7 separate regions of the Homo sapiens genome follow, and regions 2, 3, 4, 5, 6 and 7 are each linked to region 1. The links are contacts of gene promoters, found by promoter capture Hi-C in blood cells and fetal thymus (Javierre and others, 2016). All regions are on one chromosome and are shown on one strand. Each heading gives the region's core, a stretch centred on a gene start or on the middle of the fragment in contact. The rest is flanking DNA. Distances are from core to core; before and after follow the strand shown. Region 1 holds the start of SMNDC1 (survival motor neuron domain containing 1). Region 2 overlaps ADD3 (adducin 3). Region 3 overlaps ADD3 (adducin 3). Region 4 overlaps ADD3 (adducin 3). Region 5 overlaps DUSP5-DT (DUSP5 divergent transcript). Region 6 has its middle 66 kb from the start of MXI1. Region 7 has its middle 45 kb from the start of MXI1.

Region 1 (3,422 bases), core at 390-2,889:
TTCACTCTGATGTACAGAAACCTGAGAACTGGGGAAGCAACCCTACTTCTACAAGCAATGGTACCTACAGAATTTACATATATACATAGGGTGGGGTGTAACCCCTCAAAAGGCGCTTTGGGTACTTAGGGATTCAAGCAATAATTTGAAAAACAGAGAAAAAGTACAATTGTCTACCCATACTTACTTGTAAATCTTTCTTCAATTTTAGCAAATCTTCATTTTCTCCATTTCCAGATAATGCAGCTTCAACTTGCTGGAGCTGAGCTTTGTAGCTTGCCAGCTGCTTTGCTAAATCCTCTGACATCTAGGGAAAATAAAAAGGGTTAGACCATGAAAACTAAACCAAAAATCAAGGCATAAAAAACTAACTCCCCTGTCTGCCTGAATTACCAGTTTTTGCCTCTAACTCCTTCTAACACTGCAGCTTAATTTACCACCATTACCTTTACTCTCAGTTTAGACTTCAGCTAAACCACAAACTTAAAGGCAACAGATTCTGAGGATTATAAACTTGAGATACATTCCATACTTTAAAAAAGCATACAGATACAAAGAAATTTCTAATTTTCTTTTAACTCCTATCCACAGGGTAGGTGCTGAATTCGGCTCAATAATCAGTGTTATCTTTTTAAAAAGCACTACTCTGTTGGAAAAGTCGAAACTTTCAAAAACAATCCAAATACTTATTTTTAAGCACTACAGTATGCTTCCAAAGCCAAACAAGTGCGTTTTTAAATTAACTACACAAACTACGATCTTTACTTGAACTATTCAATTAAGAGTGTATTTAAAAGTGCCTCTCCAAAACAAAAATCTTTCGCCCAGTCGCTTAAATATTTATCGGTGCATTATCTTCAGCAAAAAGAACAGCACAGGTACTCTCCCATTTAGGCATTCTAACGAATGTGCCTTTCGCCAAATCCAGCTCAGTCATTTTCCTGAAAATAAGATACCAATTAACCTTTTTTGATGGTTTATAAGCAAATGTACCACGTTTCCGAGGACCCTTCTCCTTCGTAAAATTCCCGTCCAACCAAAGGCTGGGAGCCTGCAAAGGCCCCCTAAGAGTTACAGCGACCCAGGCTGCTCTCCTCCCCGCCACGCAGCACCTCAAAGCCCGCCACAACTCGATCATTCGGACGTGGAAATCCACACGCCAGCTCCAAGACCACCGCCGGAGCCCCGCCGCGCTCCAACAGGCAGGCTCCACAGGGAGCCGCGCGGCGCCCAGCCCCACCCGACCCGGTCCCCTGCGGGCCGTGTTTGCCGCCGCCGCACGGAGGCCAGCGCCGGCCGGGCCGCCGAGGCTCAGCTCTGGCTGAGAGACGGCCGTGGCTCCGGGATCCAGGGCCAGCGCCTGGGCGTCTCCGGCGAGGCGGGCTCCTCAGCCTTGGGCCTCCGCTTCACCTCGGGAGGGACCCGGGCCCGGCCAGGCCTTACTCTCTCCCTCAGGGGGGTTGTTACCTTGTGTGGGGCTGGGGGCGGGGCGGCGGGAAGGGGTCGGGGCAAATGAGCCCAGTGGTAGTGGCGGTGGCAGCAGCAGCAGTAGCAGTAGCAGGAAAATCACCGCGACGACAGCAAGGCGACCCGGTCTGAAAAGGAAGAACTCGGTCGGCGGCGAGGGGGAAGGGAGGAACGCCGGGCACTGGAAGGAGGAAAAGACAGAGACGGTGAAGTCTCGCGAGAAATACAAACTCTCGCGCGAGGTCGCTCGACTCACGTGACTCCGCGCGCCCTCTAGCCAGTCCCTGGCTGTCAGGGACACGAAGTAGGCGGGGCCTAGGAAGGAAATGGCGTAGCTGGGCTTCGCCAGGCGCGGAATGCAGGTTATCTTCCTGGAGTTCCGGCTTGGAATTTATTGGAAATGCAAATTCTCAAGCCCCACCCCAGACCTCCTGAATCCAGAGACTCTTGTTTTAATAAGCTCACCAGATGATACCAATGTCCGCTGACGTTTGAGAACCACTGCTTTTCCGGGGCGGTGGTGGTGGGTGGCGGGGGGTGTTGGTGGGGGCTCTCTTTACGTTGCCCTGGCTGGTCTCCAGCTCCTGGGCTCAAGCTATCCTCCTGCATCGGCATCCCAAAATGCTAGGATTACAGGCGTGAGCCACCGCGCCCAGCCTGAGAACCACTACTTTATATGATACAAGCCTTAGTAGTAACAGAAAGCTAATTAAATCGTGACAGAAATAACCTATTGGAGAGAAGATTGATTTCTTTAAAATCTGTTTTGTTAAAACCTACTTGGTTTTAATTTAGTTGGGTTAATCTCGCCTGATAGGGAACAACGTCCAAGTTAGTCTAGAATGGTAAAGAGTGGTAGGAATACTCACATTTGTGTTCAAAAAGAAATGCCCCTTGTGTATGTTTGTAATAATATATACGCTTTCTGGACGGATACACAAAACTGTTCAGAGGTTTGGAGTGGAAGCCAAATGTTTTATTGATTACCCTCTTTGCTGTTTACCCTTTTTCCTTTTCTTTTTTTTTTAAACCATATATATATAATTTATTTCAATTAAAAAAGCAATAAAGGCCTGAGACACAAAGTTTTATATAGATGACAGGAAGCAACCTTTCCTGGGAGGTTGGGAGTTTGTTGCTGGATCCATAAAAAGGCCCACTTCTCGCGGATCACCTGAGGTCAGGAGTTCGAGACCAGCTCGACCACGTGGAGAAACCCCGTCTCTACTAAAAATACAAAAAAAAAAAACCAACAACAACAACAACAACAAAAAGCCGAGCATGTTGGTGCATTCCTGTAATCCCAGCTGCTCGGGTGGCTGAGGCAGGAGAATCGCTTGAACCTGGAGGCGGCGGTTGCGGTGAGCCGAGATCGTGCCATTGCACTCCAGCCTGGGCAGCAAGAGTGAAACTCCGTCTCAAAAAAAAAAAAAAAGGCCCACTTCTCAGATGGGCTCTTTTGAACTGTGCCAACATCTTTAGTTCCTAGTTTTCTTTTCAAGGAGCCTTCCCTTTTGTTCTCTACACACACACACATAACCCTTGCAGTGAGTCAGATAACCTGTATAGATGGAAACTAGGTCGGGTTTGTGAGTGTGAAAGATTGAAATTGCAGCAGAGGGCAGCAGTGTGTAGCTAGAATTAAGAAGGCAGACAAAACAGAAAGCATGTGCTTTTAAATAAATATTCGTTTAAAATAAAATGTAGTTTTAGAGAACTTCTGTTATTGTAATTGTGTGTTTTAAGAACCGATGCGAGGAGGAACTTCCTTGAATATAAAGTCAACCTTATTGTGTAAAAATCTCTTAAATGAGAACTTTTCCTGAACCCCATAGATCAGAAAATAGGCAAATATTCATTATAAGTTCCATCATAGATTTCTATACCATCTTAATAATTTTTTCAGGATTGTTTTTAGGATTGTTTTTATCTATGCAACATTCATTTATAAAGAA
Region 2 (3,422 bases), core at 408-2,907, 250 kb before region 1:
TTTTCCTAGTAGTTCTGGAAAATTCCTCTTCCTTAAAGATGCAGGAAAACAGTTTTACTGACCAAGAGGTGTTTTTTCAAAGACCCAAGTTGAGAACTAATGCTTTCAAACTCATGGCCTCAATCAGTCCTCCTGCCTGGGTTTCCCAAAGTGCTGGGATTATGGGCTAAGCTACCACTCCTAGCCAGGAACTAATGCTTTAGATCTACTGGTACTCAAACATTATTGTTCTTTGGAGTCACTTGGTGCTTCAAAATTATTGATGTCTAGGTCTCACTGCTGAGATTTTGATTTAAATGGTGTCGGTGCAGTCTGGGTACTGGGATTTTTTTAAAGCTCTTCATCTGATTCTAATTTGCAGTAAAGTTTGAAAACCACTGCTCTAGTCAATAAAACAAAACTAGGCAAAACTCCAGGAAGGCAGGAAGCTTGTTCTCCACTGAGACCCCAGCATGTAAAATGGTAAACAGTAGGCACCCAACAAATATTTTTTGTTGCAATGAAAGAATATACTTTTTAAGAATCACTGTAATTTAAAGAATAAACCAAGCAGTGATTCTTTGAAATAATCCATAGGAGCTAATGATAAGTTAGTGATGAAGTATGGATTCTTTTGTGTATGTATGTAGAAAAGCTGATGCTAGATAATCATTTTCAAAAATTATAGATAAAAATCTTTGCATGAATATCAAGTGGAAATATGCTATCATTTCCCTTATGCATATTTGCATTTAAAATAACCCACAGGGACAAAATGATTTTCCCACTGAAGCTAACTCTTACCATGAAATATTTCTTTGATTTAGTTATTTTCTCCTTTATCTCCTGAAGATTTTTTTTTTTTTTGGCTTGCCATATGCATGCTATTTTGCTTTTCCTTTGTACTTTGGGTTTTTGTGGTGTATTTTTTGAGGAGGGAGATTTCTTTTGCAAATAAAGGCAGCACTCTGTCTCTCCTTTTTTCAGGAAACACCTTTTTTTCTGTGTGATGCAGTCAGTTTTTGTCATTTCCACTTTAACGTGAACTAAGAAGTCATCCTTTTCCTGTGAACAGGAAATTTCCCAGCTGTTGATAAACTGTGGAGCCGCCTGTGAAAAAGGGCAAGATCTCAGAATTCCTTCTCTCGATTCTACATGTTCTTTATTGCTTTCTACATATTGCTGATCTTTTCATTTCTAATGTGTACCATCTGATTGACGAGATGGTGACTTCCTGTTTGAGAGTTAGCTCCATTCTTTGTGTATCATACCCACGGTGATAGTACTTTGTGAGGACTGTGGCAACAGTGCTGTGCTCTCCTCTGATGTAAAGGGTAAGCTGGGAAATCAAGACATTGAAAGGAGTATTAATTTGAAAATAATTCTATAGCATTTTCTTGGGGAAAAAATGCTCACCACCTCCTCTCTTTTCTAAACACACCATTTGAGGATATCACTATTTCCTTTGTATTGAGCCTTTTATGTATGTTGAACTATCATTTGGAATATGATCTGCTGATGTACCTGGGCACCTCTAATCAGCATCTAAGTATCTAGCTCATGATTCTTTTCAGTATCACAAATCCATTCTAAAGTGGAACTGTAGGAAGGATCTGTCATATTACTGTTAAATTATCATTGGTTGCAAAAGTTTTCCCAGTGCCTACAACACTGTCTTCCTTCTTTCCTTGACTCTCATCTTTTAAAATTATAGTTTATAAGTGACATTTAATTTATAAATCACTTAAAAATTACATTAGATCCATTGTGAAGTGCTCTCTTTTCACCTCCATTACCTTGGGCCTGGGTTAGGTGCCTTGTCTGTTAGCTGACACAGGATCCTATGAAAGATAAAGGAAATTCTATTTTTTTAAATTATATGTTGGTACCATGGAAACACTTTCAGAAATGGAAAACTAAAGATCACCCATACAGGCCGGGTACAGTGGCTCATGCCTGTAATCCCAGCACTTTAGGAGGCTGAGGCAGTTGAATCACTTGAAGTCAGGAGTTTGAGGCCTGCCTGGCCAAAATGGTGAAGTCCTGTCTAAACTAAAAATACAAAAATTAGCTGGGCGTGGTGGCGCATGCCTGTAATCCCAGCTACTCAGGAGGCTGACGCAGGAGAATTGCTTGAACCCGGGAGGCAGAGGTTGCAGTGAGCTGAGTGCGCGCTGCTGCACTCCAGCCTGGGTGACAAAGTGAGCAAGACTCTGTCTCATAAATAAATAGGCCGGGTGCAGGTGTCTGTAATCCCAGCACTTGGGGAAGCCAAGGCAGGCAGATCACGAGGTCAGGAGTTCGAGAACAGCCTGGCCACTATCACCATATAGAGACACCCCATCTCTACCAAAAATACAAAAATTAGCCGGGCGTGGTGGCTTGCGCCTGTAGTCCCAGCTACTCGGGAGGCTGAGGCAGAAGGATCGCTTGAACCCAGGAGGCGGAGGTTGCAGTGAGCCAAGATGGTGCCACTGCATTCCAGCCTGGGTGACAGAGCGAGACTCTGTCTCAAAAAAAATAAAAAATAAATAAAGATCATTCATACAAGTATGAATTTCTCAAAGGCCAAAGTTGGTTTTGTCTTTCTTGCTACAACCTGTTTATTCTGAAGAGTACAACCAAACACATTAGTCCCACATGGCTTTTTATTTAGGGACATCATGATGAAAGGTTATTCTGTGGACTCTCAAAGTACTTGTCATCCATAGACTTGCTGACACCTCGTCAAGGCTACTTGAATGGGTGTATTACACAGGCTTGGTCAAAGGGTTAATGCATGCTAGAAATGTGAAGTGAAGGGAATAGAGTTGAGGCTTGGGAACATTTATGTTTTTTAGACTGCGACTTCCTGTTCAGCTGAGAAGATAGTCCTGTAGCTTTGCTGTTAGCTAAGGAGACAGTCTTGTAAGCTTGACAGATCACAGCTGTATCCTGTACTTTGTGTGAAAATGTACTTGCTTTCCCTCCTGTTCATTTCGTTTTTCTAATTTCCTAATATATTAACGTTTATTCCAGTGTTTGATGGAGTAAGAAGTTGGGTATATGCCCACATGAGAATGTGAATAATAGCTAAGTACTAGGTTGTAGGCAGATAGTGGATTAAATATGGAGTGTGTGTGCTGCAAAAACTAAATGACAAGGAAAACCCCCCCTCTGAATAAAATTTTACAAGAAAGTCCCAAAAGCACTTGGATATTTTAGCCTAGTGCTATAATTGAAGCAGTTGTCTTATTTCTTTGCAAATCAGATAATTTCTTTATAAAGAATCAAATGCTTGCTCTGTGTTCTAACCATTCCACCATTTTATTCTCTCTCAAAGCTTGAGGACAACTTCGGGACATTTCTTTCATCTCACTATCCTAAAAATCTTTGCCACTGGAACAATATTAAACTACTTCCTTCCTTGGGATTTTGCACTCTGTCTGAGCCTAATATGCTAG
Region 3 (3,422 bases), core at 622-3,121, 210 kb before region 1:
ACCTCCCGGGTTCAAGCGATTCTCATGCTTTGGCCTCCCAAGTAGCTAGGACTATAGGCATGTATCACCACGCCCAGCTAATGTTTTGTATTTTTAGTAGAGGTGGGGTTTCACCATGTTGCCAAGGCTTGTCTTGAACTCCTAAGCTCAGGCAGTCCGCCTACCTTGGCCTTCCAAAGTGCTGGGATTACAGGTGTGAGCCACCATGCCCAGCCCCTACTTGACATTTTTTTACTTACTGTTCTGCACCTACATTATGAACAATGTGTGTGTTATGACTACATCTAACTGCTTTGTTCCAATTGTACAATCACAAGGAGACTCATGTTTGCCAAGAGTTTATATTAATTCATATTATATTTTTATTTGTAAAACAAAATTTGAAACTGAAACACCCTCTTAGCTGTGGCCTCCAATTGACACATATTTTATCTTTTTTAAATGACTGCTTAGTCAGACATCAACTTCCATTAAGTACAGAACATTTAGTACCGCAGTGGGTTGCTGTTACTATTTTATTTTATTTTGTTATTGTTGTGGGGGTTTTTTCCCTTGACTTTAAGTTGGATTTTAAACTAAGGCTCAGTCCTAACTTTTACTAAACAACTATAGATTTATTATTTCCTGGACTTTATATTGAGGTTTAGAATTTAGTTTTATTTTAAAGATAACAAGTCATTTCAAAAGAACAAAAACGGGGTTCAGGAATTTAAGAATAATACGGATCAATCTGACAATTCCAGCAGTAGGCCAGAGAGGTAGGTAGGTTTCCACATGTGTAGGTTTGATAGCCATGGAAGACTTTGTGCAAATTTTATTGCTACTTTTAGAATATTTACTATTTCCACTTTGGTATTGAGTATTGTGATCATATAATATTTTCATCCCCCCTCCCCCAAATAAAGTCAGTGATCTAATGGCTGGATATATCTTTAGGAAATGATAGTCCTTTGAGCCATCTCATATTTTTTGGCTAACTCCACCATGCCTGTTAAGATCTATAACCATGAGTAATTTCCTTATTTGTGAGAAGAACCTTTGGTAATCTGAGACAAATTTATTAAACCTCAGTTTTTATACTACAAGACTACAGTAACTAAAACAGCCTGGTACTGGTTCAAAAACAGACACATAGACCAATGGAACAGGTTAGAGAACCCAGAAATAAAGCCACACACATACAACCATCTGATCTTTGACAAAGTCAACAATAACAAGCAACGGGGAAAGGATTCCCTATTCAATAAATGGTGCTGGGATAATTGACTAGCCATCATATGCAGAAGATTGAAACTGGACCTTTTCCTTTCACCATATACAAAATTCAACTCAAGATGGATCAAAGACTTACATGTGAGACCTAAAACTATAAACTCTAGGAGAAAACCTGGATTTCACGATGAAGTCTCCAAAAGCAATTGCAAAAAAACAAAAATAAACTAGTATGACATAATTAAAGAGCCTTCTGCACGGCAAAAGAAACTATCAACGTAGAAAACAGACAACCTGCAGAATGGTAGAAAATATTTACAAACTATGCATCCAACAAAGGTGTAATATCCAGAGTTTATGAGGAACTTAACCCAACAGGTAAACAACCCCTTAAGAAAATAGTCTCAAAGGACATGAACATCCACTTCTCAGAAGACATACACACAAGTCAACATGCATATGGAAAAATGCTCAACATCACTAATCATCAGAGAAGTGCAGATCAAAACCACAGGGAGATACCTTCTCATACCAGTCAGGATGACTGTTATTAAAATGTCAGAAAATAACAGATGTTGGCGAGGTTGTGGAGAAAACGGAACACTTATACACTGCTGTCCAGCCACTGTGGAAAGCAGGAGGTTTCTCACAGAATTTAAAACAGAACTACCATTCAACCCAGCAATCCCATTTACTGGGTGTATACCCAAAGGAATATAAATTATTCTACCAAAAAGACACAAGCGCAAATATGTTCATTGCAGCACTATCCACAATAGCAAAGACATGGAATCAATCACCTAGATGTCCATAACAGTGGTCTGAATGAAGAAAATTTGGTACATATATACCTTCGAATACTATGCAACCATAAAAAAAACATGAAATCATGTCCTTTGCAGCAACATGGATGCAGCTGGAGGCTATTACCCTAAGCAAATTAACACAGGAACAGAAAACCAAATACTGCATGTTCTCACCTATAATGGTAACTAAACATTGAATACACATGGACACAAAGGTGGGAACAATAGACACCCGGTCTACTTGAGTGGGGAAGGTAGCAGGAGGGTGAAGGCGGAAAAACTGCCTATCAGGTCCTCTGCTCACTTACTTGGCTTATGAAATCATTTGTACTCCAAACCCCAATGCCGTACAATTTACCTATGTAACAGACCTGCACATGTACCCCCTGAACCTAACATAAAAGGGGTGGGGAAACATTATGTTGTATACTTTAAATAAATATAATTTTATTTTTTAAACTGAAAAAAAAAACCCCTCAGTTTTCTTATCTATAAAGTTGGGGATACTGGTCGCCTTTTCATAGAGTTGTGAAGGATTTTTCTTGGAGGCTGGAGAGACAGAGTCTCACTCTGTCACCCATGCTGGAGTGCAGTGGTGCAATCTTGGCTTATTGCAACCTCCACCTCCTGGGTTCAAGCAATTCTCTTGCCCCAGCCTCTGAGTAGCTAGGATTACAGACACATGCCACCATGCCCAGCTAATTTTTACATTTTTAGTAGAGATGGGGTTTCACCATATTTGCCAGGCTGGTCTCCAACTCCTGACCTCAAGTAATCCGCCCACCTTGGCCTCCCAAAGTGCTGGTATTACCAGCGTGAGCCACCACACCTGGCCAGAGTTGTAAAGGATATTAAATGAGAAAATCTGTATAGAGCATAGTACCTGGAATTCTGTGATTGCTTTAAAATGTTTCATTAAATTACTGCTTTTGTAGTTTAGACATGTTTATGTATACATGCATTTCTATTTAGTATCTATATTAGACCAATTTCTATTACCACTTATTTCAGTTGGTGTATTATACTTGTCTTAACTCTTTAGGTCCCAACAGGATATTTTTCTGAGGTTTGTTTTGTTTCATAATACAGCCCTCAACTCTTTTAATATGATGCTAAATTATATTAAAGTGAAACTTAAATACAATTTATTATTACCCAGAGCACAGTCAATGTCATTTTGTTAATAGCTTCTAATTAAGTCATAGTGGTCATCTGTCAGGTAAAGAGTTAAGACTTCCTATATACTGATCAATAGCCAACGTAGTCTCCTTTTCAGATGGACTTGAGTCAATTTAGTGGTCCGTACCTTGCATGTAGTTCCTTTTTGTTTGGAACTCAAAGTTGTGTGGAATGTTCCATGACATTTTATTATACCATTTATCTGCCTGCTCATTGAGCTTCTTC
Region 4 (3,422 bases), core at 634-3,133, 180 kb before region 1:
TAATTGCAGCAGAGGCCCACAAAGTCCAAAATATTTGCTATCTGACCTTTTACAAAAAGGTTTGCTACCCCCTGGTTTAGCTTGTGAAACACAAACTTTGATACGTATATACCAGTTAAATATGTCCTTCTGATTTTTTCCAGGTGAAAGTCAATATAATAGGAGAAGTGGTTGACCAGGGAAGTACCAATTTGAAAATTGACCATACAGGATTCAGTCCCCATGCTGCAATCTATTCAACACGTCCTGATGTTAAGTGTGTGATACACATCCATACCCTTGCAACAGCAGCTGTAAGTCAATGAAAGTCCAAAACTGACAGGACGCTGGAAGATGTATTATTTTTGTGGCTTTCTCAACAGGATGCTTTACTATCTGCTTTTCAAAATCATATTTGATACAATAATCTGCATACCCAGAAAGCAAAAGGCCTTTGGGACCAAATGCTACCATTCTAGGAAACAACTGGAGAAATAACATTTGGATTCTAAAACTAACCAGTTTGAAAATTGGGTCATTGAGTTTTTTGGAGCAAAGCTTCTTTCATAATATTTGACACAGCATATAAGTTGAGTTGTATTCCCTAAGTCCTTTTTGTGTGTGTGTGGAAGAAACAAAATGGGAAGTGAATAAAGTGGGAAGTGGGCTGCAATGGTGAAACACAGTGAATAGGCCAGTGTTTTCCTGAGCTGACCAAACAATCAGGTTCCTATGAAAATGTATTTAGTAACCAAATGTGTTATCTTGGTATGGGCCAAACCAAATAGGTATCCTCCATGAAATGTGGGATCCTTCCAATTTCTCAAGAGTCTCTTCTTCTGGGAGATGTTGCCTATTATGACTACCAAGGGTCACTTGAAGAACAGGAGGAGAGAATTCAACTGCAGAAGGTTCTGGGACCAAGTTGTAAGGTATGTAGTAGAGTTTGTCTAAGGAGCTATTTTTGTTGCTGCTGCTGTTGATGAAAACAGTGTGAGCTATGCCAGTTATTTCAAGTGATTGCTGTGGGCATTCTATTTTAGGTGCTGGTACTCAGGAATCATGGTGTGGTTGCACTTGGAGAAACATTAGAGGAGGCTTTTCATTATATTTTTAATGTGCAACTAGCCTGTGAGATTCAGGTAGGAAACATTATTCCCCTTTTTTAATTGCTTTGTTATTTGCTCGTTTAGTTGGATTTTGTGTACTTATTTGCAAATACATATTAGTTAGTGGCTTTTTGTCTTTTAAGAGAAGTTCTGCTCTACTTATGTAGGCAGGGTTTTCAACTCAGTTATCTCTTGAATTGAAAATAGGAGTAAAGGAAATTAAAATTTTCTCACACACAATCTAAGGGCCTCATAAACATCATTTTCCCTACAATCCTGCTTTTTAAGTTAGTACAATTGCATATTTCTGTTTTCACCCTGTAGTGGTGGTACTAATTAAGGAAGAAAAACAGCTGCAAATCAAGAATCAAATGTGTTGTGGTCACTTTTGTAAAAAGTTTGACTAGGTCCAGAAGTTATATGAAATTGCAGTTTTCAACAATTCCACAGCCTCATTATGATGAGAGGTTGGATATTTATTAATCATTTTTTTCATCAGAGATGTTGAATGTATTTAAAGGCCCTAATTTTCTTTTTCTTTTTCTTTTTTTTTTAATTATACTTTAAGTTTTAGGGTACATGTGCACATTGTGCAGGTTAGTTACATATGTATACATGTGCCATGCTGGTGCGCTGCACCCACCAACTCGTCATCTAGCATTAGGTATATCTCCCAATGCTATCCCTCCCCCCTCCCCCCACCCCACCACAGTCCCCAGAGTGTGATATTCCCCTTCCTGTGTCCATGTGATCTCATTGTTCAATTCCCACCTATGAGTGAGAATATGCGGTGTTTGGTTTTTTGTTCTTGTGATAGTTTACTGAGAATGATGATTTCCAATTTCATCCATGTCCCTACAAAGGACATGAACTCATCATTTTTTATGGCTGCATAGTATTCTATGGTGTATATGTGCCACATTTTCTTAATCCAGTCTATCATTGTTGGACATTTGGTTGGTTCCAAGTCTTTGCTATTGTGAATAATGCCGCAATAAACATACGTGTGCATGTGTCTTTATAGCAGCATGATTTATAGTCCTTTGGGTATATACCCAGTAATGGAATGGCTGGGTCAAATGGTATTTCTAGTTCAAGATCCCTGAGGAATCGCCACACTGACTTCCACAATGGTTGAACTAGAGAGCCCGCATCGCCAAGTCAATCCTAAGCCAAAAGAACAAAGCTGGAGGCATCACACTACCTGACTTCAAACTATACTACAAGGCTACAGTAACCAAAACAGCATGGTACTGGTATCAAAACAGAGATATAGATAAATGGAACAGAACGGAGCCCTCAGAAATAACGCCACATACCTACGACTAGCTGATCTTTGACAAACCTGAGAAAAACAAGCAATGGGGAAAGGATTCCCTATTTAATAAATGGTGCTGGGAAAACTGGCTAGCCATATGTAGAAAGCTGAAACTGGATCCCTTCCTTACACCTTATACAAAAATCAATTCAAGATGGATTAAAGATTTAAACGTTAGACCTAAAACCATAAAAACCTTAGAAGAAAACCTAGGCATTACCATTCAGGACATAGGCATGGGCAAGGACTTCATGTCCAAAACACCAAAAGCAATGGCAACAAAAGACAAAATTGACAAATGGGATCTAATTAAACTAAAGGCCCTAATTTTCTCTTTAAATCAAGCAGATTTGGCCAGGCACGGTAGCTCATGCCTGTAATCCCAGCACTTTGGGAGGCTGAGCTGGGTAGATCACCTGAGGTCAGGAGTTCGAGACCAGCCTGACCAACATGGAGAAACCCCGTCTGTACTAAAAATACAAAATTAACAGGGCGTGGTGTCATGTGCCTGTAATCCCAGCTACTTGGGAGGCTGAGGCGGGAGAATCGCTTGAACCCGGGAGGCGAAGTTTGCAGTGAGCCGATATCGTGCCATTGCACTCCAGCCTGGGCAACAAGAGTGAAACTCAGTCCTCAATAAATAAATAAATAAATAAAGCAAATTCTCATGAAGCAAATGGTAATAATCTTAATTTATTGGAAGGGCCACAAGAAAGGGGGAAAAGAACAACTAAAAAAAAACTTTTTCTACCAACATTAACTTGTCCTAACAATCAACTTATTTTTGCTTTAATGGTTCCTCCTCTTCTCAAATGGGGCTATGAAAAGCTTAATTAAATTAAGATAATGAGCTGATGGCTTCTGCCTAAATATCTTTAAATTCAAAGTACAGTGTTTTTGTATTTCCTTAAAATTATAGCTTTTAGCAAAAGTATTAACTGGATAACCCTGGGAAAACTTCAAGAAAAGAAATTTAAAATTTGGCAGCAGAATTCCGTGGCTTAAAATATGTTAAG
Region 5 (3,422 bases), core at 327-2,826, 170 kb after region 1:
GGTGGCCACCTTTTTACTTTGGTTACATGTGATGAAATCTCTTGTGAATATGCAGGTATGTATGTCTCCCCCATAAGTTCAGAGGGCAGGAAGTTATTCGATTCACTTCTGCATCCCTGGAAGCCAGGGCAGGGCCTGGCCCAGACCAACATCAGTTTCTGTGGGTTGCAAGAAGTATATATTCAACCAACCAATACTTCTTGTGCCTACGACCTGCCAGGCCCTTTCTAGGCACTTGGAATTCAGCATTATAAAACCAAGCAAAAATCTCTTCCCTTAAGGAGCTTATATTCTATGGGGGAAACGTATCATATGAAATAATGGTTTCTGCAAGGTCTGCTAGGAAGTAAATGAAACAGATTGTAAGTGTATAGAGAAAGGTAAGAGCGCTGTGGACTGAAGCAGTCAGGGAGGGATTCCTGCAAGATGCTTCACTGGCATTGCCTTCTTTGTTGAAATCGACTACAAAGCCTCTTAAATGATTTTCTCCCTCACTCCCATGGCCAATGCCGAGGCCCTAGTGTATCAGGCACTATTTGTATGTTCACAGCTCCTTGACTAGGGTCAGCAGGGAAGGTGTGGGAGTAGAGAAATGAGCCAGGAGGTGCAGAGAGACAATTAGTAGTGATGTTATTTCAAGCAAAATCCTTGTTCTGGAATTCCGTCCTGATCTGCTTTTCTCATGTTGCATTATCTTAAGCAAATTAATTAATCCTTTGAGCCACAGCATCTGCATCTGTAAAATGAAAAAAAAAAAAAAACTAACAATGAGGTTGGTGTGAAGATTAAATGCATAACTAAGGGAAAGGGGGACAGGTCAATGAATGGAAGGCATTGTTGCTATTTTGGTAAAAAACACTCTCAAATAGTCCTCAGCCAAGAAGAGGGGCATGGCAGAAAGAGCAGCACCCTGGGGACATCTAAAGCTCATTCAAACTTGGTGGATTCCTGGATCTTCAGTTCCCTGCTGGCGTTATTTTTATTTTTTATTTTTTGTTTTTTATTTGAGACAAGGTCTGGCTCTATTGCCCAGGCTCTAGTGCAGTGGTGTAGTCTCAGCTCACTGCAACCTCCAGCTCCCGGGCTCAAGCCATCCTCCCACCTCAGCCTCTCGAGTAGCTGGAACTACAAGCTCACACCACCATGCCCAGCAATTTTTGTATTTTTTGTAAAGACGGGGTTTTGCCATGTTGCCCACGCTGGTCTTGAACTCGTGAGCTCAGGCAATCTGCCTGCCTTGGCCTCCCAAAGTGCTGGGATTAGAGGCATGAGCCACTATGCTGGCCGTCCTGCTGGTGTTATCTTAAAGAAGTAATCTGATCCCTCTGAGCCTCAGTTTACCTATTCACAAATGGGGCTTACAGCTCCCTGCCAGGGTTATTGTAAGGTTTAAAACCACAGATAAAAAGTCTCTAATTTGGTGCTTGTGACTTAGTAGGAGCTAAATAAACATAATAAACATTTCCGTCACTCTCCCATTTTCCTCCCCACCTAGCCTGGAGGCATCTGAGACAGCCTGATGGGAGTGTCCCTCAGAGTGACAGGGTCTTTGGACTTTCACTCAGGGCAGGCCCATCCAGCTCAGGCCCCACCCAAGACCCTTAGGCCAAGCTAAAGATTCTCTACTTAGGAGAGAAAAGCCAGCTGCCAAAGTTTGCCTGTATCCGGCAGAGAGGACAGGAATTAATCACGGGCCCTGCAGCTCACTCTGGGCCCTGAGGTGATTCGAAGCCTCTCAGATTTAAGTTCCAACTGTAGGCTGAATGCTCTCAGGATTCCAGTGCCAGCCTCTACCCTGGGCTCTGGCCAGTACAGCCTGCCTGCTGCCCACCTGTCTTTCCACCTGGACGTCCGTAAGGCCAATGTGTCCATTTCCTATTGCTTCCGTAACAAATGACGACAAACTTAGTGGCTTAAAACCAACCACACAAATGCATGATTTCACAGTTCTGGAGGTAAGAAGTCCTAATTGGGTTTTCTCTGGGCTAAAAGCAAGGTGTCAGCAAGATTGTGTCCCTTCTAGAGTCTCGATGGGAGAAACCATTTCCTTACCTTTCCCAGTTCCTAGAGGATGTCTTAATTCCTCACCTCGGGGTTCCCTTCCTTCACCTTCAAAGCCAGTTCAAAGCAATGGCAGGTTGATTCCTTCTCACATCGAAGCACGCTGACTCTCCTGCCTCCCTTTTACATTTATAAGGCCCCTTGTGTTTACATTGGGTCCTCCAGGATAATCTCCCAACTCAAAATTCTTGACTTAATCAGATTTGCCATGTGAGGTCATATATTCACACGTGCCATCTTTCGAGGACATTATTTGGCCCAGGAGCACACCAGAATGCTCAATCTCACCACCCAAACCTGTTCTTCCTCTACCTTCCCCATCTCAGACAATGACACCCCCATCTACCTAATCCAAACCAGGGCATCCTTCGTGATTCCTCTTTCCCTCATGCCCCACCCCTGCCACATCCACTACATCTGAAGGTCTTGTCTGTCTACATCTCTCAGCTTCCTCTTCTATTATCTTTGTCCAAGACCCCATCACCTGTCACCATGACCATGGCAGTAATTTCCTAACTGGTCTCTGCCTCCACTCTGTCCTCCCTACAGTCCATTCTCCAAGCAGCTGGGGATCTTTCATCATCACCCTGCATAAAACCCTCCACTGATTTCCCACCTCGGTTAGAACCAACTCTAATCTCTTCACCATGGTCTATGAGGAAGGCCCTGCATAATCTGGCCTTGCCAACATCTCCCAGCTCATCTCTGACCTCTCTCTCTTGTCCACTAAGTTCCAGCCATAGCTGCATCTGTGAATCCTCAGACAGGCCACAGTGGTCCTGTCTCAGGACTGGAATGCCCTTTCCCTGATTCAGACACAGCTGGCTCATTTTGATTAATCCGTTGTCAGTTCAGATGACACCTTCTCAGAGAGGCCCCTCTGGCCTCCAGTTCTATTTGTTCTCCATCTTCCCCAGCCACCACAGTCAAGCTGGCTTTGCTAAGAGTTTGTATGTTACCTGTCTTCCCCACTAGAAGGAAGCCCTAGAGAGCAGGGAACTCATTTACCTTGTTTACCACAGAATTCCTAGTACCTGAGCCAGTGCCTGGCACACATTAGATGCTCAATAAATTAAATACCAATGAATGCAATTTAGAGAAAAAAAATTATGGTCCTTGATTTATATTCACAGAAGTCTGAGATCTGAATGCATATAAATCAGCCCTCCTTGAATTTATTGAGCCTACTATGTGCTGCTTTACGGAAGACAGATGGTAAGAAGCCAGCCTTACTACTTCCAGGACCTCACAGCCCAGGAAGAAAGAATATGCCAAAAAGAAGGTAAAGTTGAGAACTCAAATACAAGGCCTTTCTGGTAAGCTCCACAGGGCAGGGGGCTTAGAACCCTGGGTGATAGTAG
Region 6 (3,422 bases), core at 664-3,163, 160 kb before region 1:
AGGCGTGAGCCACCATGCCCGTCCCGTGAAAGTTACTAAGTTGCCTTTTTGTTTCTAGATTTTATTTTTACACAAACGGTTTTGTCATTCTCCAGAGTCGGTCCTGACCTTGCTTCTGATGGTAAGAAAACCTCTCCAGTGCTATATGACTGCTGTCACGAGGCAAAATACTCGTTCCTTGCTGAACAACATGCTTTAATAGCATTGGTTTTATTCATCTAATTTGAACGTGTATTGAAGAATATTAGATTTCTAAGAAACTCTAGGATTTTTTAAAAAGTGTTTATGAAATGGCAGAATCAATATGTAGTACAAACTTGCAGCACCAGATGAAAGGACTTATAGGCAAGATTTTCCTCATTGTCTATATTAGACTCGCACTCAAAAAGCTGGTAAATATGTCAGCCCTATAGAAAGACCATTGCAGAGTGTTAATTGGACTTCTTAGACCAAACAGTGTCCCTTCAGATTGATATTTAGACTTGAAATTTTTGAGAAAAACTTGGATTTCCCAAAGCAATATAACATATCCTAGCAGATAGGGATGGAAATTAGGAAGTAGTACAGTTATAAAATGCAGGCTTTATTATTATTTTTTTCTTTGAGACAGTCTCACTCTGTCGCGCCCAGGCTGGAGTGCAGTGGCATGATCTCGGCTCACTGCAACCTCCGCTTCCCAGGTTCAAGCAATTCTCCCGCCTGTCTCCCAAGTAGCTGGGATTACAGTTGCCCACCACCACGCCCAGTTAATTTTTTGTATTTTTAGTAGAGACAAGTTTTCACCGTATTGGCCAGGCTGGTCTGGAACTCCTGGCAGTTGATCCACCTGCTTTGGCCTCCCAAAGTGCTGGAATTACAGGCATGAGCCACTGCACCCAGCAAAATGCAGGCCTTAAGAGGCAGACTCAGCCGGGCCCAAGTAATCCCAGCACATTGGGAGGCCGAGGCGGGCGGATCACGAAGTCAGGGAATTGAGACCATCCTGGCCAGCATGGTGAAACCCCCTCTCTACTAAAGATACAAAAATTAGCTGGGCATGGTGGTGCACGCCTGTAGTCCCAGCTACTCGGGAGGCTGAGGCAGGAGAATCGCTTGAACCTGGGAGGCAGAGGTTGCAGTGAGCCGAGACTGTGCCACTGCACTCCAGCCTGGCAACAGAGCGAGACTCCATCTCAAAAAAAGGGCAGGCTCTTTTGGATTTCCCTCTGGTACTCCTGACTTATCTTTTCTGGGTTTATAAAACAAATATAGTGACAGTCCCCAGCCTGGACCTGGAGCTACAGTTCTGCTAGACTCTTCTCAATGGTTTTCTGGCTGTGTTCTGTCCTTCCTTGAAGACCATTTTCTTTCATAGACAGTCAAGATCTAAACTAATTGTTTTTTTTTTTTTTTCCAAAAGCAATAGCTTCTGAAGATTTTCACTAAGCAGGAGCTAGGGAGGAAGTAGTTGTTGCGTGCTATAACTCACCCCTTTCCTGTTGAGTAATGCTGTAGAGGTTGGATTCAGTGGCAACTGGCTTGCTAGACTTTGACTTCAGAGTAGATGAGCTCCTAGTTTTATGAGAGAACATGTAGATACAGCCAGCTTGTTGGCATGCACAGGCAGTCTCTTCCAAAGGTGTTTGCTGGACTAAGGAGTTAAAGTTCAACATTTCTTCCTACCTGATTTCTGTTTTGGAAATGTTGGCTTCAATTGTTTCAACTGAAATAAAGGTCATTTGAGGCTATTAGGATAACCAAGACTGTATCCCAAATATTATCTACTGGTCCACATCGCGGGGAGGGGTAAGACTCACTGCACCCGGATGTTTGGGTATCTTAAGCCTTTTAAATTATTTAATTTAAAATATCCTGTGTGGTAATTGAGATGTTTTGTTTTTAAATTATTTTTAAAATAGTGTTTTACTTTAGAACATATTTTCAAAATATGAAATTTTTTGATATGTAGGTATGGTCGTGTGTCTCCATTTTGACCTTTAAGTTAATATTGAGCAAGGGTATATGCACATGTACTTGCCAAAGCCAAGCTGAGCATGGGTCAATTAACTGCAGAGGAACAGGGCAGGCTGGGTGGGGCAAGCTCAGGAATTCTACCCACTCACTGAGCAAAGTCAGGCACTGGGGGAACAGCTTGAGCTGGAGAGCTAGTAGGAAGCCCAGCCCAGCCAGTGAAACATGGAGCCTCGAGAACATAGCCATCGGCCAAAAGCGTAGTCTGGTAAATGGTCTGCATCAGGGAAGTGGGAGTCCCAGTCAGGATTCTGGAGTAAGAAAGCAGGATGGCAGAAGCCCAGTAGCATGTGTAGGAGTGCCAGCCACAGGCTTAGCTCTAAGAGCAGCGCTTCCTCTACTTCCTGTGGGGTAATGGCAAGATCATGGCAGGACCTCAGGCTTAAGGGGCCTGGGTATAGTTAGCAGTTCCTCAAGACAGGAACTCGGATAGAAGGAAAATGACAGATGGGAATCCTGTTATCAGAACTGAGGTACACAATACTGCTCAGAATTCCAGAAGCCAGGCAGTGCTCAGAGCCAAGACAAGGTCAGGACTGGCCTGGGGACAGGCTTGGCTTGGTGCCCAGTGAGTCCCAGAGCCAGGAGCTAGAGCTACCTCAGTTCCGCTGGCCTCATTAGGACTAGTCCTGGACACCACAGCCAGGTAAGTCGGTCAAGTGGCCCTAGTCGTTGTGGGAGAGGCACACTGCAGAGACAGGGAAGGGCCCTGACATGGCTTTCACAATGGAAGCAACCCTGTGTGATAACAAGACAGCCACGTAAGAGTGGCTGCAGGAATGAGTTAATATTTCACACCAGAACCTACCTGAGGACTAGCAAAGATGAATAAGCAAAGGCCAAGTGCTACTGAAACACTCGCTGTGAAGATGGCCCCATGTTTCCTGTGAACTAATTTTCCAATCGGGAGGCAGTTTCACTATAGAAAAATTTAGCTCCAGTGATGTCTCTGCCCTTCCCCGCCCCCAACCCCGCCACCCTCTTACCAGGAGTCACTATAAGATGCACCTCAAGAACACTAATTGAATAGAAGAGAATCGAAGACAGTGGTCTGTGTTTCCTCCTCCTATAAAAAATGAGGCTATGATTTTATGCTGGCAAAACACCTTCGATTCCACATGGCGTCCTCCATAACCCTCTGGTTGTGGCAATAGCCGTTTGCCACTGAGTCAGAGGCCTCTCTGATTTGTCTTGCCACATCCACCCAAATAATGACCTCTCAGTTCACTCCTCCAACCTGCTTCCGGAGAGAATGGCTTCCTTAGGACCGTACCTGTAGCAGCTCCAATCTGTCATCATCTGGGGGACTCAGGAGCCAGCTGCATGAGTCATCCAGTCCTCTACTCCCACAGTTGTCCATAGAACACCTAGCCCTGCCACCTGGCAAGCCAGCCTTCTTTCCCACCCCATCT
Region 7 (3,422 bases), core at 358-2,857, 140 kb before region 1:
AAAGACTGAAAGCTTTCCCCTAAGATCATGAACAAGACAAGGGTGTCTCCTCTTCTTGTCAGTTCTATTCAACATTGTGCTGGAGGGGCTAGCCAGGGAAATTAGGCAAGAAAGTGAAATAAAAGGCCAGTTTGGAAAAGAAGAAGTAAAACTATCTCTGTTGACAAATAATCTTTTATATAGAAAATACTAAGATATCTACCCCCAAGCACCAGGCTATTAGAGCTAATAAACAAGTTCAGTAATATTTCAAAATATAAGATCTGCATATAAAAATTAATTCTATATCCATATGCTAGCAATTAAAGTTTCAAAAATAGAATTTAGAAAACTATTTCACATCTAGTAGTATCAAAAGGAATAAAGTACCTAAGCATAAATTTAACAGAAGTACAAGATGTGTACATTCAAAACTGTAAAATATTGTTGAAGGAAATTGAAGAAGACCTAAATAAATGGAACAACAACACATAGTTGTGAATTGGAAGGCTTAATATTGCTAAGATGGCAATATTCCCAAAATTGATATAACAGATTCAATGCAATCCTATCAAAATTCCAACTGACTTCTTTGTAGAAGTTGATAAGCTGATCAAATGAATGTGGAATGCTTGTAAAATGCATGTGAAAGCGCAAGGAACCCAGAATAGCCAAAACAATTTTGAATAGAAAAATAGAAGATTCATACTTCTCAATTTTAAAACGTACTACAAAGCTACAGTAATTAAGACAGTGTGGTACTTGTCTAAAGATATAGACATAGAGATCAATGGAATAGAAATGAGGGACCAGAAATAACTCTCACAGTTGTGGTCAATTGATTTTCTTTTTTTTTTTTCCCTTAAAAACAGTGTCTCACTATGTTGTCCAGGCTGGTCTCAATCTCCCGGGCTCAAGCGATCCTCCCACCTCGGCCTCCCAAAGTGCTGGGATTTATAGGCGTGAACCACCATGCCCAACTGTCAATCAGTTATCAACCAGGATGCCAGGACCATTCAATGGTGAAAATAAGAGTCTTTTCAACAAATGGTGCTGGTGCAAATGGAGATTGACATGCAAAGACAGGTCAGGACTACACTTCGTGTTTCCTGTGTCCGGTGTCAATGTGTGAAGCTGCCTTGGATTAAACATCCAACGAGAAAGGAAAAACCCTCGTCTCCTCTTCCTGGGATCCCAGCCGCCAGAGCAGGGGCACCAGGCAGTACTCAGCACCACCTAAAGAAGTGCCTGTGCTTTGACCCGGCAATTCCACTTCTAGAACTTTACCCTACATACACACGCACACATGTGCACCACGACTTAAGTACGTGGTTATCTGCCGCAGCACTGTTCATAACAAAAAACTCTGGAGGTAATCTGTGTTCATCAGTGGGGGCCTAATTATGCTGCATCCATAAAGGACCATAATTTATATAGCAGTAAAAAAGAATGAGAAAGCTCTGTGTGTACTAATAAGGAATGATCTCTAAGATCCATCATTAAGTTAAAAAATAAGGTGCAGAGGCCAGGCTCAGTGGCTCACACCTGTCATCCCAGCATTTTGGGAGGCTGAGATGGGTGGATCATGAGGTCAGGAGTTCAAGACCTGCCTGGCCAATATGGTGAAACCCCGTCTCTACTTAAAAATACAAAAATTAGCTGGGTGTGGTGGTGCGCGCCTGTAGTCCAGCTGCTCAGGAGGCTGAGGCAGGAAAATCTCCAAACCCGGGAGGCGGAGGTTGCAGTGAGCGGAGATTGCACCACTGCACTCCAGCCTGGGCGACAGAACGAGACCCTGTCTCAAAAAAATAAATAAATAAATAAAAATAAGGTGCAGACAGTGTTCAAAGTATGTTAATTTGTTTATCGTGTGCGCTCATGTGTGTGTGTGTGTGTGTGTGTGTGTGTGTGTGTGTAGGGAAAAGGAGTGTTTGCATAGATACTAGATACTAGTACATTTGGTTGACTCCAGGGAGAAACTGGGTGATTTGGCAAGGGATAGGAGAGAAATGTTTATCGTACATCCCCATGTCTCTTTTGTATCCAGAGAAATAAATGCATATTCAAAAAAAATTAATAAAAGAAACCAGCAGAGTTGTTTCACAAACTTGAATACATGTTCTTCAGCCAAGTTTGACCTGAGCTACAACAGGAACTGGAAGTCACGGGTGGCTATTTTTCCTGCAGAATTACTGTGTGAGTTACTTTACCTCTGTTCAGAAGCGGAAGTGTGGGGATGATCAGTTCCCATTCCTTTCTTGCCCCCAGGGAGGTTGAGGAACTAAAGATTCTTCAGGCTGAGCTTTGAACTCCTGGGATACTCGGCACCCTGGAGGTGATGCAGAGGGCAGCTGTTGGTGCCCACACCCTTCTGCTGTTCTTGCATGCAGCTCAGTGGGGAGGCGTTTCCTCGTGCCATCAGGAAAGTGGCCCCTTAGGATCAATGGCACTGCCCAAGGGCTCCCCCATGTGATGGTGAGGGAGGAAGCCTGGCTCTGGCCCGGCTCTGGCCAACTCTGGCCCCAAGTTGATGTGGGAGATCAGACAGGTAAGTGAACTGTCTGTTCCAACAGTCCTCCCACAGAGCATCCCTCTTCCTAACCTCACAGGGACACCGGTGGGTGAGGATTCGCAAAGGAGAATGTGAAGCAATCAGGCTCTGACTGGTTTCTGGGGAACACCAAACTTCCCATGAGGAAGTAAGTGGCTTACTCCCCAAACTGACTCTCTGGTCAAAAAAAAAAAAAAAGAAAAGTCTGGGAAAGGCAGGATTAACAGAGTTAACCAGGTACCTTCACTGCAGACCTTCTCGGAGCCTTAAATATGCTAAAAGCACTGGGACATGTCAGATGTGGCTATCCCGTGTATCCTTTCCCAAACTTGTTTGACCGCAGAAGCACTTTGGAGCAAAACACCTATTAAACTCTCCTGGAATAAAGGCAACCCATGGAGCACAGTTTGAGAAGTGCTTATTAGGTGAAAGTAGGGTAAACACAAAACACCATTCAAAGGCACAATGGTAGAGATAATGACTGCAATATAAATTCCTGTCATTCTAACCTCCTATTCAGTTTCCCTGGCTCACAGTGCTAGGTGTTTTTAAAACTACAGACTATAAACCATTTGTGGGTAATGAAATCAATGTAGTAGGTTACAACTAGCTTTAAAACAAATGAATTTGGATGGAACAGAAAATAACAGAGGGTATTGCATTTAACATGGGTAAGCTTTGCTTTGTGAAGCACACATGCACACATGTATGCACTGGTTTGTGATAAAAAATGTATTTCTTACTGTGGATTATAGTCAAAACATTCAAAAAGACATTGCTCTAGAGCTCCTCTTTCAGTATTAGGGTAATTACCACGTGAGGGCTTCCCTACTTTCCCAACTGAACCTGTCTGACTGTCTGCTGAGGGCTCTGGGGACGGGGCCCCTCCCTG

Evidence for each region. Contacts are between HindIII fragments. The CHiCAGO score rates a contact against its expected background, and 5 or more counts as called.
Region 2: a contact is called between a fragment that was not itself captured here and the fragment with the promoter of SMNDC1 in region 1, in 2 of 17 cell types (neutrophils and monocytes). The highest score is 8.3, in neutrophils.
Region 3: a contact is called between a fragment that was not itself captured here and the fragment with the promoter of SMNDC1 in region 1, in 1 of 17 cell types (neutrophils). The highest score is 5.0, in neutrophils.
Region 4: a fragment that was not itself captured here is called in contact with the fragment with the promoter of SMNDC1 in region 1 in 14 of 17 cell types (neutrophils, M2 macrophages, total CD8 T cells and 11 more); the score reaches 18.6 in neutrophils.
Region 5: a fragment that was not itself captured here is called in contact with the fragment with the promoter of SMNDC1 in region 1 in 3 of 17 cell types (activated CD4 T cells, total B cells and naive B cells); the score reaches 7.0 in activated CD4 T cells.
Region 6: a contact is called between a fragment that was not itself captured here and the fragment with the promoter of SMNDC1 in region 1, in 16 of 17 cell types (neutrophils, naive CD4 T cells, total CD8 T cells and 13 more). The highest score is 23.0, in neutrophils.
Region 7: a fragment that was not itself captured here is called in contact with the fragment with the promoter of SMNDC1 in region 1 in 4 of 17 cell types (neutrophils, monocytes, activated CD4 T cells and 1 more); the score reaches 12.1 in neutrophils.

The regions. Positions count from the first base shown.
Region 1 is chr10:110,303,281-110,306,702 of GRCh38, forward strand. SMNDC1 (survival motor neuron domain containing 1) reads right to left here and starts at 1,640. Exons shown (of 6, transcript NM_005871.4): 1 at 1,468-1,640; 2 at 188-307. The coding sequence starts at 307. RefSeq lists a silencer at 1,152-1,471. The HindIII fragment of the contact is 6,895 bases long and covers 1-3,422 here.
Region 2 is chr10:110,057,277-110,060,698 of GRCh38, forward strand. All of the region lies in intron 1 of ADD3 (adducin 3), which reads left to right. Among named protein-coding and RNA genes, the nearest start is that of ADD3-AS1, 51 kb to the left of the region's middle. RefSeq lists enhancers at 2,690-2,749, 2,800-2,909. The HindIII fragment of the contact is 2,463 bases long and covers 427-2,889 here.
Region 3 is chr10:110,090,306-110,093,727 of GRCh38, forward strand. All of the region lies in intron 1 of ADD3 (adducin 3), which reads left to right. Among named protein-coding and RNA genes, the nearest start is that of ADD3-AS1, 84 kb to the left of the region's middle. The HindIII fragment of the contact is 5,983 bases long and covers 1-3,422 here.
Region 4 is chr10:110,118,444-110,121,865 of GRCh38, forward strand. It overlaps ADD3 (adducin 3), which reads left to right. Exons shown (of 15, transcript NM_016824.5): 6 at 144-293; 7 at 768-911; 8 at 1,023-1,121. Among named protein-coding and RNA genes, the nearest start is that of MXI1, 87 kb to the right of the region's middle. The HindIII fragment of the contact is 2,697 bases long and covers 536-3,232 here.
Region 5 is chr10:110,474,491-110,477,912 of GRCh38, forward strand. It overlaps DUSP5-DT (DUSP5 divergent transcript), which reads right to left. Exons shown (of 2, transcript NR_187547.1): 2 at 1-736. Among named protein-coding and RNA genes, the nearest start is that of DUSP5-DT, 20 kb to the right of the region's middle. The HindIII fragment of the contact is 7,252 bases long and covers 1-3,422 here.
Region 6 is chr10:110,139,853-110,143,274 of GRCh38, forward strand. No RefSeq gene overlaps it. Among named protein-coding and RNA genes, the nearest start is that of MXI1, 66 kb to the right of the region's middle. The HindIII fragment of the contact is 5,462 bases long and covers 1-3,422 here.
Region 7 is chr10:110,160,610-110,164,031 of GRCh38, forward strand. No RefSeq gene overlaps it. Among named protein-coding and RNA genes, the nearest start is that of MXI1, 45 kb to the right of the region's middle. The HindIII fragment of the contact is 3,194 bases long and covers 11-3,204 here.